2 separate regions of the Homo sapiens genome follow, and region 2 is linked to region 1. Evidence: promoter capture Hi-C in human tissues and cell types (Jung and others, 2019). All regions are on one chromosome and are shown on one strand. Each heading gives the region's core, a stretch centred on a gene start or on the middle of the fragment in contact. The rest is flanking DNA. Distances are from core to core; before and after follow the strand shown.

The links. The method cuts DNA at HindIII sites, captures the fragments that hold promoters and counts their contacts. A contact is called where the count stands out against the background at its distance.
Region 2: a fragment that was not itself captured here is called in contact with the fragment with the promoter of TOMM20L in region 1 in 1 of the 25 tissues and cell types used here (spleen).

Annotation. Positions count from the first base shown.
Region 1 is chr14:58,392,201-58,398,632 of GRCh38, reverse strand. It overlaps TOMM20L (translocase of outer mitochondrial membrane 20 like), which reads right to left and starts at 2,703. Exons shown (of 5, transcript NM_207377.3): 1 at 2,540-2,703; 2 at 2,292-2,335. The coding sequence starts at 2,675. It overlaps TOMM20L-DT (TOMM20L divergent transcript), which reads left to right and starts at 2,928. Exons shown (of 2, transcript NR_187161.1): 1 at 2,928-3,332. RefSeq lists silencers at 2,256-2,305, 2,376-2,895. The HindIII fragment of the contact is 11,412 bases long and covers 1-6,432 here.
Region 2 is chr14:58,181,026-58,187,457 of GRCh38, reverse strand. No RefSeq gene overlaps it. Among named protein-coding and RNA genes, the nearest start is that of ACTR10, 16 kb to the left of the region's middle. The HindIII fragment of the contact is 5,011 bases long and covers 1,331-6,341 here.

The DNA.
Region 1 (6,432 bases), core at 1,454-3,953:
ATTGACTGATTTTCTTGTCTTCAACTTCCTTTCTCCACACTGGAACCAGAATTGTCTTATTTAAAAAATAAAACCAAAATAATTGTGTCTGTTCTCTGAAATAAAGTCACCATCATTAGTTATCCACCACAACAGAAAAATGTCCTGACTTTTCAGTTTGGCATTCAAAGTCCTCCACGGTAAGACACTAAACTGACCCTCAGCTATCTCTCTGGCCATAATACTCCTTGAACATTACAATTTCATGTTCTGTGCCTCTGCACAAGGTGTTTCCCTCTGCCTACAATGAACAACAATATTCAACAAACATTTGCTGGGCACCTACCGCACTAGACTCTGTTCTAGGCACTGGAAACAATGGAGAGTAAAAAACAAAGTCTGCCCTCACACAGCTTAGTGTAATAAACGGAAAGCATTAATCAAATAATTACACAAATGTGCAAGTGAAACCATGGACAATGACGAGGGACATGGAGCTGTATCAGGCTCTGTCTCAGTCAAGTCAGGGAAGGTATCTCCACTCCCATGTCCAGCTCTTTGGACACTCCCTACCCAGCTAACTATGTCAAATGGGCTTTTATTCTCTACTGTGATTCCATTTTGAAACCCCGGAAGTGTCTTTGACTCCGCCTCTCCATTACCCTTTACTCAGTCGGCATGAACTGTATTCTTCCCAGTTACCACTACCACCACCATAGTTCAGGATTTTTATTACCTCTCAACTAAATTGCTGCAATAGCTTGTTTTCTTTTCCAATCCATTAAGTACACTCCTGCTTGATCAATCTAAGAATATTTCTCTTCTGCCTTTCTTTCCTTCTTTTTAAAAAATTCCTGCTTAGAAATCTTCAGTAATTCCTCCATTGAATCTCAGTTCCTTAACCTGGCCTTCAAAGCAAGCCTTCCCTAATTCAATCCTACTTTCGCTCTCCAACCTTACCACCCACTATTCCTCAGTATGACTCCTTTGCCAAACTGGTTTACTGAATGTGCTTGGCAGATGCCCCACTTTGCATCTTTATGCACATGCTGTTCCCTCCATCCTGTATCCTCTCCCCTGAAACCAAGCCACAAATTCATCATCCTTCCAGGCTCAGTTCAATGCCACTTCCGCTACAAAGTCTTCTCCGGAAAAACTGCATGTTTCAAAAATGGCTACCGCAATATTCCCGGTCACACAAGTGCTTTCAAAACCTTGCCATCCCTGTTGAGAGGTAGAATCTATTTCCTCTCCCTTTAAATTGAGTAGGCTTCAATGTTGCCAGAAGTGGTACCATCTGCTCTTCCACATGGGCACATGTTCTAGTTCACATGCATGTGCGTGCTCTCTCTATACACAGACACACACACACACACATATATATACACACATACATATATGTGTTTGCTTGTCCCTTGGGACACAGCCCATCACACAAATGAAGAATCCCAGATCACACAGACGTGTAGGTGCTCTGGCTAACAATCTCAGCTAAGTAAACATCCAGCATCAACTGCGGATTGCTTGTGGCCAGGAGTTCTAGTTCAGCCTGGGCAACATAGGAACACCCTTGTCTCTTTCTTTTTTTATAGACAGTGTCTTGCTCTGTCGCCCAGGCTGCAACTGCCACCTCCCGGACTCAAGCAATTCTCCTGCCTCAGTCTCCCAAGTAGCTGAGACTACAGGCACACGCCACCACTCCCGGCTAATTTTTGTATTTTTAGTAGAGACAGGCTTTCACCATGTTGGCCAGGCTGGTCTCAAACTCCTGACCTCACGTGATCTGCCCGCCTTGCCTCCCAAAGTGCTGGGATTACAGGCGTGAGCCACCAAGCCCGGCCCGCCTCTTAAAAACAACAAAAAAGGGACTAATCAAATTTTGCCGCAGAGATTTACAAAACACGAAGATGCCTTCTGCTTCTGAGCTACAAGAAAGGCCCTGCGGGAGAACAATCTAGAAGTTACTGCCATGTGACCGTGGCCAGCCTGGGTTTTTAAGTGTCCTGTGCGGCTCTGACAGGGCAAAAGGCTCCTCTTCCTTCTTCCAGTTAAAAGAAGTGCCTGTTGTACAGTGTTTTGCTTTGCAGCTGCCTTTTTATAACTCCAACTTCTTCCTCCTTCCTTCCCTCCCTTTTGTGAGAGGAGAGTGACTGGGCCTGAGGCGGTGCGTGGCGCGCGAGGGCAGGCCTCTTCCCGGGCACGGGCGGCTGAGGGAACTAACTACCTGCTGCCGAGCCCGCCAGGAGCCAAGCAACCCAGCGAGCCCGGACCTGCGTCTACTGAGCTACCTGTGCGGATCGAAAGCACTGCACCTGCGTGCCCTGCTCCTCAGCCTTTTGAGGCTCTGCTCTTCTTTCTGCGAACACAACACGGCACATGCTGGCTGGGAGGCCCGTCCAGAGGCACGCGTGGGCCCAGTGGTCCTGCCTGCCCGGGCGCCGCGGGCCCCTCGGCAGAGGCTGAGGCACTCACGGCCCGGCCTCTCAGTGGGGGGCCCTCCCGGCCGGCAGCCCGCCCGCGCTGCCCGGCCCGGCCGCGCCTCCGCCTCGGTCCCACTCACTGTCCCGCAGGCGGCGCTTGAACGCGGGGTCCCCGCGCCGCTTCCGGTTGAGGTAAATACAATAGCCCAGGAAGGCGAAGGCGCCACAGGCCGCCGCGGCGGCCAAGAGGCGGAGGAGGGAGCGGACGGAGGGCATCCGACCGCGGGCGTCCCACAAGCCGAGCGTTGGGCGCGGGCCGGCCGGCAGGGGGCGTCGGCGCGGCGGCCCATCCGGCCTCGGGGCCTCCTGCGCACCCAGCTGCGCGTTGACGCCTCGCACCCAGGCTTGCGGACCGATGAGGAAGCCGAGCGTTCGAGAGGGTGTGTGCGGGAGCCCTCACAGCCACAGAGTAGCAGAGCTCTGTTCGAACCTACGTCTGTCGCACTCCAAATTCTGAACCCTTTCTCCAAACACGCCTCTGCCCCTGTGTCTACAACACCCATTCAGGCAAAGCACAGTATGCTGCGAATCTGCTTTACTGGGAGCCAGTGGTCGTTTAGGTCTCTGTTCCCTCACCTGCAAAATTAAGTTGACTCTAAGGTCAACTTTGGTCACCTCCTAGTTCACATTGTCTAACAGTAGCCCGTACTCCCCAATCTGGTATCCTTTGTCTCCTGAAAGGACCCAGCAGTCCAAGGTCCAAGGGAGGAATTCAGAAGCAACACTGTTTAATCTAGAAAAATACGTTAAATTGCTGGGCTGAGACTGACAGTCAAAGGTCCCAAAGCAAAAACAACTGAGAGTCCCATGATACTGGCCTAGCTGCTTTTCTAATATTTGCCTTACTCAGCGGACACAGCAGAAAGAAAGAAGGTAAGACTTTGTCCTAAATACCAGAGTTCTGACTTTTCTACTAAGGAGGAGAAAAGGCATAAGCTAGGGACCTAAAGAACTAGATAATTCATTTTTATTTAGGTTATACAATTGCTATTTACTGATTTACAATTTACTGTTATTACTAGTGTGTGCATAGCAAGGTGCTCATCACTGCTCTGAATACCAGTGGGTCTAGCTAGGTGCAGTGGCTCACAACTGAAATCCCAACACTTTGGGAGGCTGAGGTGGGAGGATCACTTGAGCTCAGGACTTGGAGACCAACCAGCCTGGGCAACATTGCAAGAACCCATCTCTAAAAAAACAAAACAAGGGCCGGGCACAATGGCTCATGCCTGTAATCCCAGCACTTTGGGAGGCCGAGGCAGGCAGATCACAAGGTCAAGAGTTCGAGACCAGCCTGGCCAACATGGTGAAACACTGTCTCTACTAAGAATACAAAAATTAGCTGGGTGTGGTGGCATGTGCCTGTAATCCGTTACTTGGGAGGCTGAGACAGGAGAACTGCTTGAATCCGGGAGGCGGAGGTTGCAGTGAGCTGAGATTGTGTCACTGTACTCCAGCATGGGCAACAGAGCAAGACTCCGTCTCGATAAAACAAAACAAAAAAATACTGGTCGTGGTGTGCACCTGTAGCCCTAGCTACTCTGCAGGGATCACTTGAGCCTAGGAGTTGGAGGCTGCAGTGAGCTCTGATCACTGCCACTGCACTCCTGCCTGGGTGACAGAATGAGACCCTGTCTCTATAAAAATACATAGGTGGCTGGGCGTGTTGGCTCACGCCTGTAATTCCAGCACTGGGAGACCGAGGTGGGTGGATCACCTGAGGTCAGGAGTTTGAGACCAGCCTGGCCAACATGGTGAAACCTCATCTCTACTTAAAATACAAAAATTAGCTGGGCATGGTGGCACAAGCCTGTAATCCCAGCTACTTGGGAGGCTGAGTCACGAGAATTGCTTCAACCCAGGAGGCGGGGAGGTTGCAGTGAACTGAGATCAATCACACCACTGCACTCCAGCCTGGGCAACAGAGTGCGACTCTGTCTCAAAAAAAAAAAAAAAAAAATATATATATATATATATATATATATATATATAGAGATAGATAGGTAAATTATAAATTAGTAGATAGATTAAAAAACCAATGGGTCTGAGTAGTAGCCTCAGCCCTCAAAATTTAAGAGTTAGCAGGGGTAAGTTACATATCATGCTTTCTTGAGTACTGTATGTTTTTTCTCATGATAATTGTCTTCTAGAAGGGAACTTGGTTATTGTGAAAACCTGATTGTAAACACAGAGGAGAGGATAGTGTCAGCATCTTGTAAGTATTACTGGTGATCAGGGACTGGTTCAGAATCTTGGCAAGGGTTTAGCCCAGCTTCAATTGATCTTTCTTTAGGTTGACGGCAACTTGTCTTCTAAGACCACCAATCTTGTGGCTTTCTTCCCATCTTTCACCTTCCCTTTCACATAGTTAATGCCTGTGGTAAATGGAGAGGGATGGAGCGAGAGAAACTGTTGAGATTAGCTGGGTATTCAGGAGCAAAGTAAACAGTGACACATAAAAGTAGGAGAATTATTACAGCAATTAGGAATAAACAGATTTCTAAAGTTGAAATTGCCAGAGAGAGAGGCCATGAGGAAACATAATTGAAAAATTAGGCAAGTTTCTATGGGACAGGTAGATATTTTCTTCTCAGATATAGGCACCACTCTTGCTAATTTGGTGATCAGAATTCCTATAAAGCTTTGATAATTTTCATATTGAGATAGCACTAATAGTTGTCTTCAAAACATGGTTCTATGCTGGATGATAGCTCTCTTTCTTTTATTTATTTATTATTATTTTTTGAGATGGAGTTTCACTTGTTGCCCAGGCTAGAGTGCAATGGCACGATTTCCAATTCTCCTGCCTCAGCCTCCTGAGTAGCTGGGATTACAGGCGTGCACCACTACGCCCAGCTAATTTTGTATTTTTAATAGAGATGGGGTTTCACCATGTTGGCCAGGCTAGTCTTGAACTCCTGACCTTGGGTGATCTGCCCGCCTCAGCCTCCCAAAGTGCTGGGATTACAGGCATGAACCACCATGCCCGGCCACTCTCTTTCTTTTAAATCACTTTATCGAGGTAAAATTGATATACAATAAATTGCAGATATTTAAGGTGTACAGTTTTATAAATTTTGACATATGTATGCATCCAGGAAACTGTCATCAAAATCAAGATAGTAACCATATATCTATCTACCATTAAAGGTACTTCTTTAATACCTTCTCCATCCTTCCTTTCCCTTGCCACAAACATGCCCTACTTTCTGTGACGGTAGACTAGTTTACATTTTCTAGAGTATTATATAAATGGAATCATATAGTATGTACTCTTTTATTGTCTGGCTTCTTTCACTCAGTACAATTATTTTGAGATTAATCCATGTTATTGTATCAATAGTTCATTTTTATTGGTAAGTAGTAGTCCATTTTATGATCACATCAAAATTTGTTTAACCATTCATCTGTTGAACTTTGAATTGTTTCCAATTTTTGACTATTACAACAAATAAAGTTGCCATAAACATTTATATAGAGGTCTTTATATGAATATGCCTTTCCTATTCTCTTGAGTAAATACCCAAGGTAAAATAGCTGAATCCTAAGGTAGGGATATGTTTTTTTGTTTGTTTGTTTGTTTTTGTTTTTTAAGAAAATGCCAGCCAGGCGCAGTGGCTCACGCCTGTAATCCCAGCGCTTTGGGAGTCCGAGGTGGGGGGATCATGAGGTCAGGAAATGGAGACCATCCTGGCTAACACGGTGAAACCCCATCTCTACTAAAAATACAAAAAATCAGCCGGGCATGGTGGTGGGCGCCTGTAGTCCCAGGTACTCAGGAGGCTGAGGCAGGGGAGTGGCGTGAACCCGGGAAGCAGAGCTTGCAGTGAGCCGAGATCGCGCCACTGCACTGCAACCTGGGCGACAGTGTGAGACTCTGTCTCAAAAAAAAAAAAAAAAAAAAAAAAAAAAAAGAAACTGCCAAACACTTTTCCAAAATGGTTATACCATTTTGCAACATCAATGTAGAAGA
Region 2 (6,432 bases), core at 2,587-5,086, 210 kb after region 1:
TGGAGTGGTGTAGTCCAGAAAGAAGATTTGCTTGTCACATCTTACAATGTTCCAAATGCCTGACTTGGAACTCCAGTACCAAGAAGCTTTGTATAAAAAATCGTTGGCGTGGGCTGGGCGTGATGGCTCATGCCTGTAATCCCAGCACTTTGGGAGGCCGAGGCGGGCGGATGGCCTGAGGTCAGGAGTTAAAGACCAGCCTGGCCAACATGGTGAAACCCCATCTCTACTAAAAATTCAAAAATTAGCCGGGCATGGTGGTAGGCGCCTGTAATCCCAGCTACTTGGGAGGCTGAGGCAGGAAAATCGCTTGAACCTGGAAGATGGAGGTTGCAGTGACCCGAGATTGCGCAATTGCACTCCAGCCTAGGTGACAAGAGCGAGATTTCGTCTCAAAAAAAAAAAAAATTGTTGATGTGGGGTGCATGTCTTTTAGAAATGTTTGAAAGTCCTTCTCATTATCCTAGGGGAAGAGGCTTCTCTTCTTCAATTCAGAGCCAATCCCTGCACTTGAGCTCTGGGCCTCATCCCTCACACCTTCTCAGTGGCCATGCTTCCTCAGTTATACCTGCCTCCTTCTGTTTCTCACCAGCATCTTTTAAAAAAAGAAAATCCTCCCTTAGCCTTATCTTCCCCTCTAGATGCCACCCTATCTCTTTTCTATTTGATCTTTGTGAAAGAGTTGTCTACATTCATTGCCTCATCTTTCTTTCTTCCCATCATTCCTTAACCTATTGCAGTCTGGATTTTGCCACTTGACCAATATTGCTCTTGCCAACCACATCAGTTTCTTCTTTGTTTGTTAAATCCAATGGACATAGGTCAGTGTTTAGCCTATTTGACTTCTCTGTAAATTTTCAAACTGTTGACTGCTCTCTCCTTGAAACTTTCTCTTCCCTTAGCTTCTACAACGTTACTCTTTTTTGGTTTATCACATATTTTATAGATATTTCTTTGGAGTTGTCTACTATTCTATCTCTTAATATGTTAATATACTGTTCTCTACCATTTTGTCTTGGGATCACTTCTTTTCTCATCTCCACACTTGCTTCCTCAGTTATCTTATTCTCTTTCATGGCTTCATTTACTATCATATACTCATGCCCAACTCCACTCTCACACAGGCTGTAACTTCAGCTCAGATATGTTGCCTGAGCTTAAAACTTTATTATCCAACAAAACACAGACACATTCTTTGTGGAGATCCCACAACCACCTTAAACTCAACATGTCCAAAACTTAACTACTCATAATCCTTTGAAAAGTGTCCCCATAGCCTACATTTTTTTTTCCAATCACTATGAAAGATCTTTCAGGAGCCTAGGCTGGAAACCAGAAATAGTTCTTCTCAACTCCTTCTTTCCTTTTACTTCCCATTTTCCATCAGTTACGAAGTCCTATGATTTTTCCTTCTCGTACATCTTGGGTCTATTATCATTTGTCTTAGTCTGTTCACGCTGCTATAATAAAATGCCGTAAACTAGGTATCTTATGCAAAACAGAAACTTATTTCTCATAGTTCTGGAGGCTTGGAAGTCGAAGATCAAGGTGTCTAGTGAAGGCCCACTCCCTAGTTCACTGAATTGTGCCTTCTCACTGCAACCTCACATGGTGGAAGGGGCAAGGCAGCTCCCTGGGGCTTTTTTTTTTCTTTCTCAAAATTGGGGAACTAATCTTATTCATGAGAGCTCTGCCTTCATGACCTAATCACCTCCCAAAAGGTACCACCTTTTAATACCATCACCTTGGGGGTTTGGATTTCAATGCATGAATCTGAGGGGACATAAACCTTCAGATCATAGCCCCTTCTCTCCATCCTTACTACTACTACATTAGTTCAGGCCTTCATCATCTTTCTTTCCCACTCTCTCTTGAATTTTACTTGTATATGAACACAGCATGGTAGCCATACAAAGATTTTAGGTTCTTTGCATTGTCACTTGAGTCTTTATGATCAGTAAATCTGTGAGAGGGAGGTTTGGTGAATATTGTCTTTTTCCAGAGTTCAGGGGTCAGATAGCCTGTAGGATTTGGAGATGGCATCAAAGATGACTTTAGCCAAGTTGTCCAAGTAGGAGTGCAGTTCCTGGCAGAAGTATAGCAGTTATTGATGTCAGTAATCAGCAGAAGTCTCTTAGGCACAAGAACAGAGAGATAATGTCACTTCATTTAGGGGCAAGAGTAAGATGCATCCCTAATGAGACCCAGCACCCTGTCACCTTAAAAGAGAGTATCACCTGGCAAGCATGAAGTGCTTGTTAATCTTGTTCTCCTAGCACAATTCACAGGAATTAAGCTATCTTGGTCAAGATGATGGCACCATTGACTTCCATGAAGCAGCTAGACTGCCACATCTGGCCGGGCACGGTGGCTCACACCTGTAATCCCAGCACTTTGGGAGGCCGAGGTGGGCAGATCACGAGGTCAGGAGATTGAGACCATCCTGGCTAACACAGGGAAACCCTGTTTCTACTAAAAATACAAAAAATTAGCTGGGTGTGGTGGCGGGTGCCTATAGTCCCAGCTACTCGGGAGGCTGAGGCAGGTGAATGGCGTGAACCTGGGACGCGAAGCTTGCAGTGAGAGGAGATAGCGCCACTGCACTCCAGCCTGGGTGACAGAGCGAGACTCTGTCTCAAAAAAAAAAAAAAAAAAAATAGACTGCCACATCAACCCAATGGCCACAAATGCCTTCAGCCTGGATCTTCTTCAGGACCTTGAGTGATTGCCCTAGGAGAGGGGGGAAATAAACCCCTCAGACTCCTTGATAAGCAGAAAGAGATCCCCTCCAAGGAAGTAATTTCCATGGCCTTGGCCAGGTGGCCCAGCTTGTATACCAAGGACCACTCCTTGTCCTAGGCCTTGCTGCCAAGGCCCTAGCCATCGCTGAGAAAGGATTCTATAAACTGCCTCAGTCCCTGACTTGATTGTCTTTCCCAGCGCATCAGAGTTTAGTCAAAGAACCAGCATCTTCATCTGCTATTTGGTATGTCCTCTACAAAGTAAAAGCCCTCAGCATCTCCTTCCTATGTTACTGCAACTGCTTCCTCACTAATTTTCCTGCCTTTAAGTATCATACTATCCCTTCATATTTCTCACCTAGTTTTATTTCTTTACACTGCTGCCCAAGACATCTTTCTAAAACCCAGCCCTCATCATGTCATCTTCCTGCTTAAAACCCATAATCATCAGGACAAATTCCAAATGAATTCCAGATCTCTCAGTATGACAAACAAAGTCCCTCATGACCTGACCCCTGCTCATCTCTCCCTGGCCTTACCATTCCCCTCTTAGAACTCTGCTAACATAGTAGTGAACTATGAGTATTTCCCAAAATGTGTGTGTTTTTTCAGTTCGCCCCTATGACTTAGCACACTGTTCCCTCTCCCTATCTGGAACACCTTCATCCTTCAGGACTCAGTTCAGACATTCCCTTTGTTAGGAAGTCTTCCCTGGCCCTCCAATTTTTACTAGTGCTTCTCCTTTGGGTTCCCTTCACTTTCTGTACAAACCTTTTATTACTTTGTTTTGTAATTTTCCTCTTTTCTTATCCACCCTTGGTCTTCCAAATATTTGAGTCTAAGGATGGTGTTTTAACTTCTTATTCTCAGAGCTGAACATACAAAGTATTCAATAAATTTTAAAAAAAATCGATCAATGATGCATAGAACAATGAATGAATTAAGCATATAATGAATGAGTAAAACAGAGTCTGTAATTTTCCCCCTTGTTTATAAAGAAGACCAGCCAACTAACCTTCAGAGGAGAGATCCAGACTTGTTGCCCTAAATTACCACTGCACAGTAAACTGCCTACAAAGTTCATTACATTGAGGTCTATCCTAGTAAACTATAAGAGAGTAATTCCCTTGATCCTTTCTTTGTTCTGGTTTTTAACATGACTTTTGTCAGCTGCCTTATAAAAAACAATTAGCATGGCCAGGCACATGCAGTGGCTCATGTCTGTAATCCCAGCCCCTTGGGAGGCTGAGACAGGAGGAGTGATTGAGGCCAAGAGTTCCAGACCAGTCTGGGCAACATAGTGAGACCCTGTCTCTAAAAAAACAAAGTAATTAGCATCTAGTTTCAAATGGCCTGGAGAGAAATACTTTAATTTTTGGATGATACTCCCTTTTGCATGTGAGAGAAGGCAATCAGGAAGAAAACTGACAAGAATTGAGTTATTTCACTGGGTCTCATGTTGATTAATGCCACACACTTCTTCTCAGTTGTAGTTTTCTTTTGTACTTACCCATCAACGTCTATCACTGTACAAATATATCACTAAACATATCATCCTAGGGTAGCATTTCTTTCTAATTTTATCACTTAACTATGATTCAGTGTTTATTTCTAGTTTGGCAAAGAGGACATTAAAAAATGTCTAAATAAAGTTGGCAAATGTTTTGATTTTAAAGCATAAATAATTTTTTCCTCCAAAGTATAATTTAATTTTTCTAGAAAAGTTCAAACAGGCTTTGTAGTTTTTGACAATATTCAAGCATTTTTCATACATAGGATAAAAACACATCTTATTAACTTTTTTCTTTGGAAAAATATTCATATTGCACAGAAGTATATCAAGTAAAATGTGTCCTTTCCCCAATACAGTCCTCTGCTCCTTCAATATGACTCCATGTAGCTCACCACTCTCACATTTTGGATATTTTCTATGTGTACAAACTCACACATTATTTTACATGAATGTGATAATTGCTTCTAAAACTTATTTTTTTTCACTGAAGTTACCTTAAAAAATCAAATTAAGTCTATATATATTCTCTCACCTCTTCCTTTTTAATAGCCATAGTTTTCATGGATTCATGGATGTATTATTATTTTTTTTTAGCAGAGTCCTTTTAGTGACTTAGATTATTTTTAGTTTTTCTCTATTATCAAAAACCACAGTGAATTTTTTTTTTTTTTTGACAGAGATTAGCTCTGTCACTCAGGCTGGATCACTGCATCCTCAAACTCCTGGTCTCAAGTGATCCTCCCACCTCAGCCTCCCAAGTAGCTAGGCACATGCCACCACGCCAGGCTATATATATATATTTTTTAAATGGAGTTTCGCTCTTGTTGCCCAGGCTGGGGTGCAGTGGGACTGTCTCGGCTCACTGCAACCTCCACCTCCCAGGTTCAAGAGATTCTCCTACCTTAGCCTCCTGAGTAGCTGGGATTTACAGGCGTGCACCACTATGCCCGGCTAATTTTTTTTTTTTTTTTTTTTTTTTGTATTTTTAGTAGAGACGGGGTTTCTCCATGTTGGTCAGGCTGGTCTCAGACTCCCGACGTCAGGCGATCTGCCTGCCTCGGCCTCCCAAAGTGCTGGGATTACAGGTGTGAGCCACCGCGCCCAGCCACGCCAGGCTAATTTAAAACTTTTTTTGGGCCAGGTGTGGTGGCTCACGCCTATAATCCCAGCACTTTGGGAGGCTGAGGCGGGCGGATCACGAGGTCAGGAGTTCAAGACCAGCCTGGCCAACACAGTGAAAACCCGCCTCTACTAAAAATACAAAAAATTAACTGGGCAAGGTGGTGGGCGCCTGTAATCCCAACTACTTGGGAGGCTGAGGCAGGAGAATCACTTGAACCCAGGAGGTGGAGGTTGCAATGAGCTGAGATCGCGCCATTGCATTCCAGCCTGGGCGACAGTACAAGACTCCGTCTCAAAAAACAAACAACAACAACAACAAAAATGGCCGGGCATGGTGGCTCATGCCTCTAATCCCAGCACTTTGGGAGGCCGAGGCGGGTGGATCACCTGGGGTCAGGAGTTCGAGACCAGCCTGGCCAACAGGGTGAAACCCCGTCTCTACTAAAAATACAAAGATTAGCCAGGCGTGGCGCCTGTAATCCCAGCTACTTGGGAGGCTGAGGCAGGAGAATCGCTTGAACCTGGGAGGTGGAGGTTGCAGTGAGCTGAGATGGCGCCATTGCACTCTAGCCTGGGTGACAGAGCAAGACTCCATCTCAAAAAAAAAAACAAAAACAAAAACAAACTTTTTTTGCAGAGATGGAGTCCCACTATATTTTGCCCAGGCTGGTCTCGAATGCCTCAAGTGATCCTCCTGGCTCAGCCACCCAAAGTGCTAGGATTACTGATGTGAGCCGCCGCATCTGTCCTACAATGAACATTCTTTTTTTTTTTTTTTCTTGAGACGGAGTCTCGCTCTGTCGCCCAGGCTGGAGTGCAGTGGCGCGATCTCGGCTCACTGCAAGCTCCGCCTCCCGGGTTCACGCCATTCTCCTGCCTCACCCTCCCCAGTAGCTGGGACTACAGGCGCCCGCTACCACGCCCGGCTATTTTTTTGTATTTTTAGTAGAGACGGGGTTTCACCGTGTTAGCCAGGATGGTCTCGATCTCCTGACCTCGTGATCCGCCCGCCTCGGCCTCCCAAAGTGCTGGGATTACAGGCGTGAGCCACCGCGC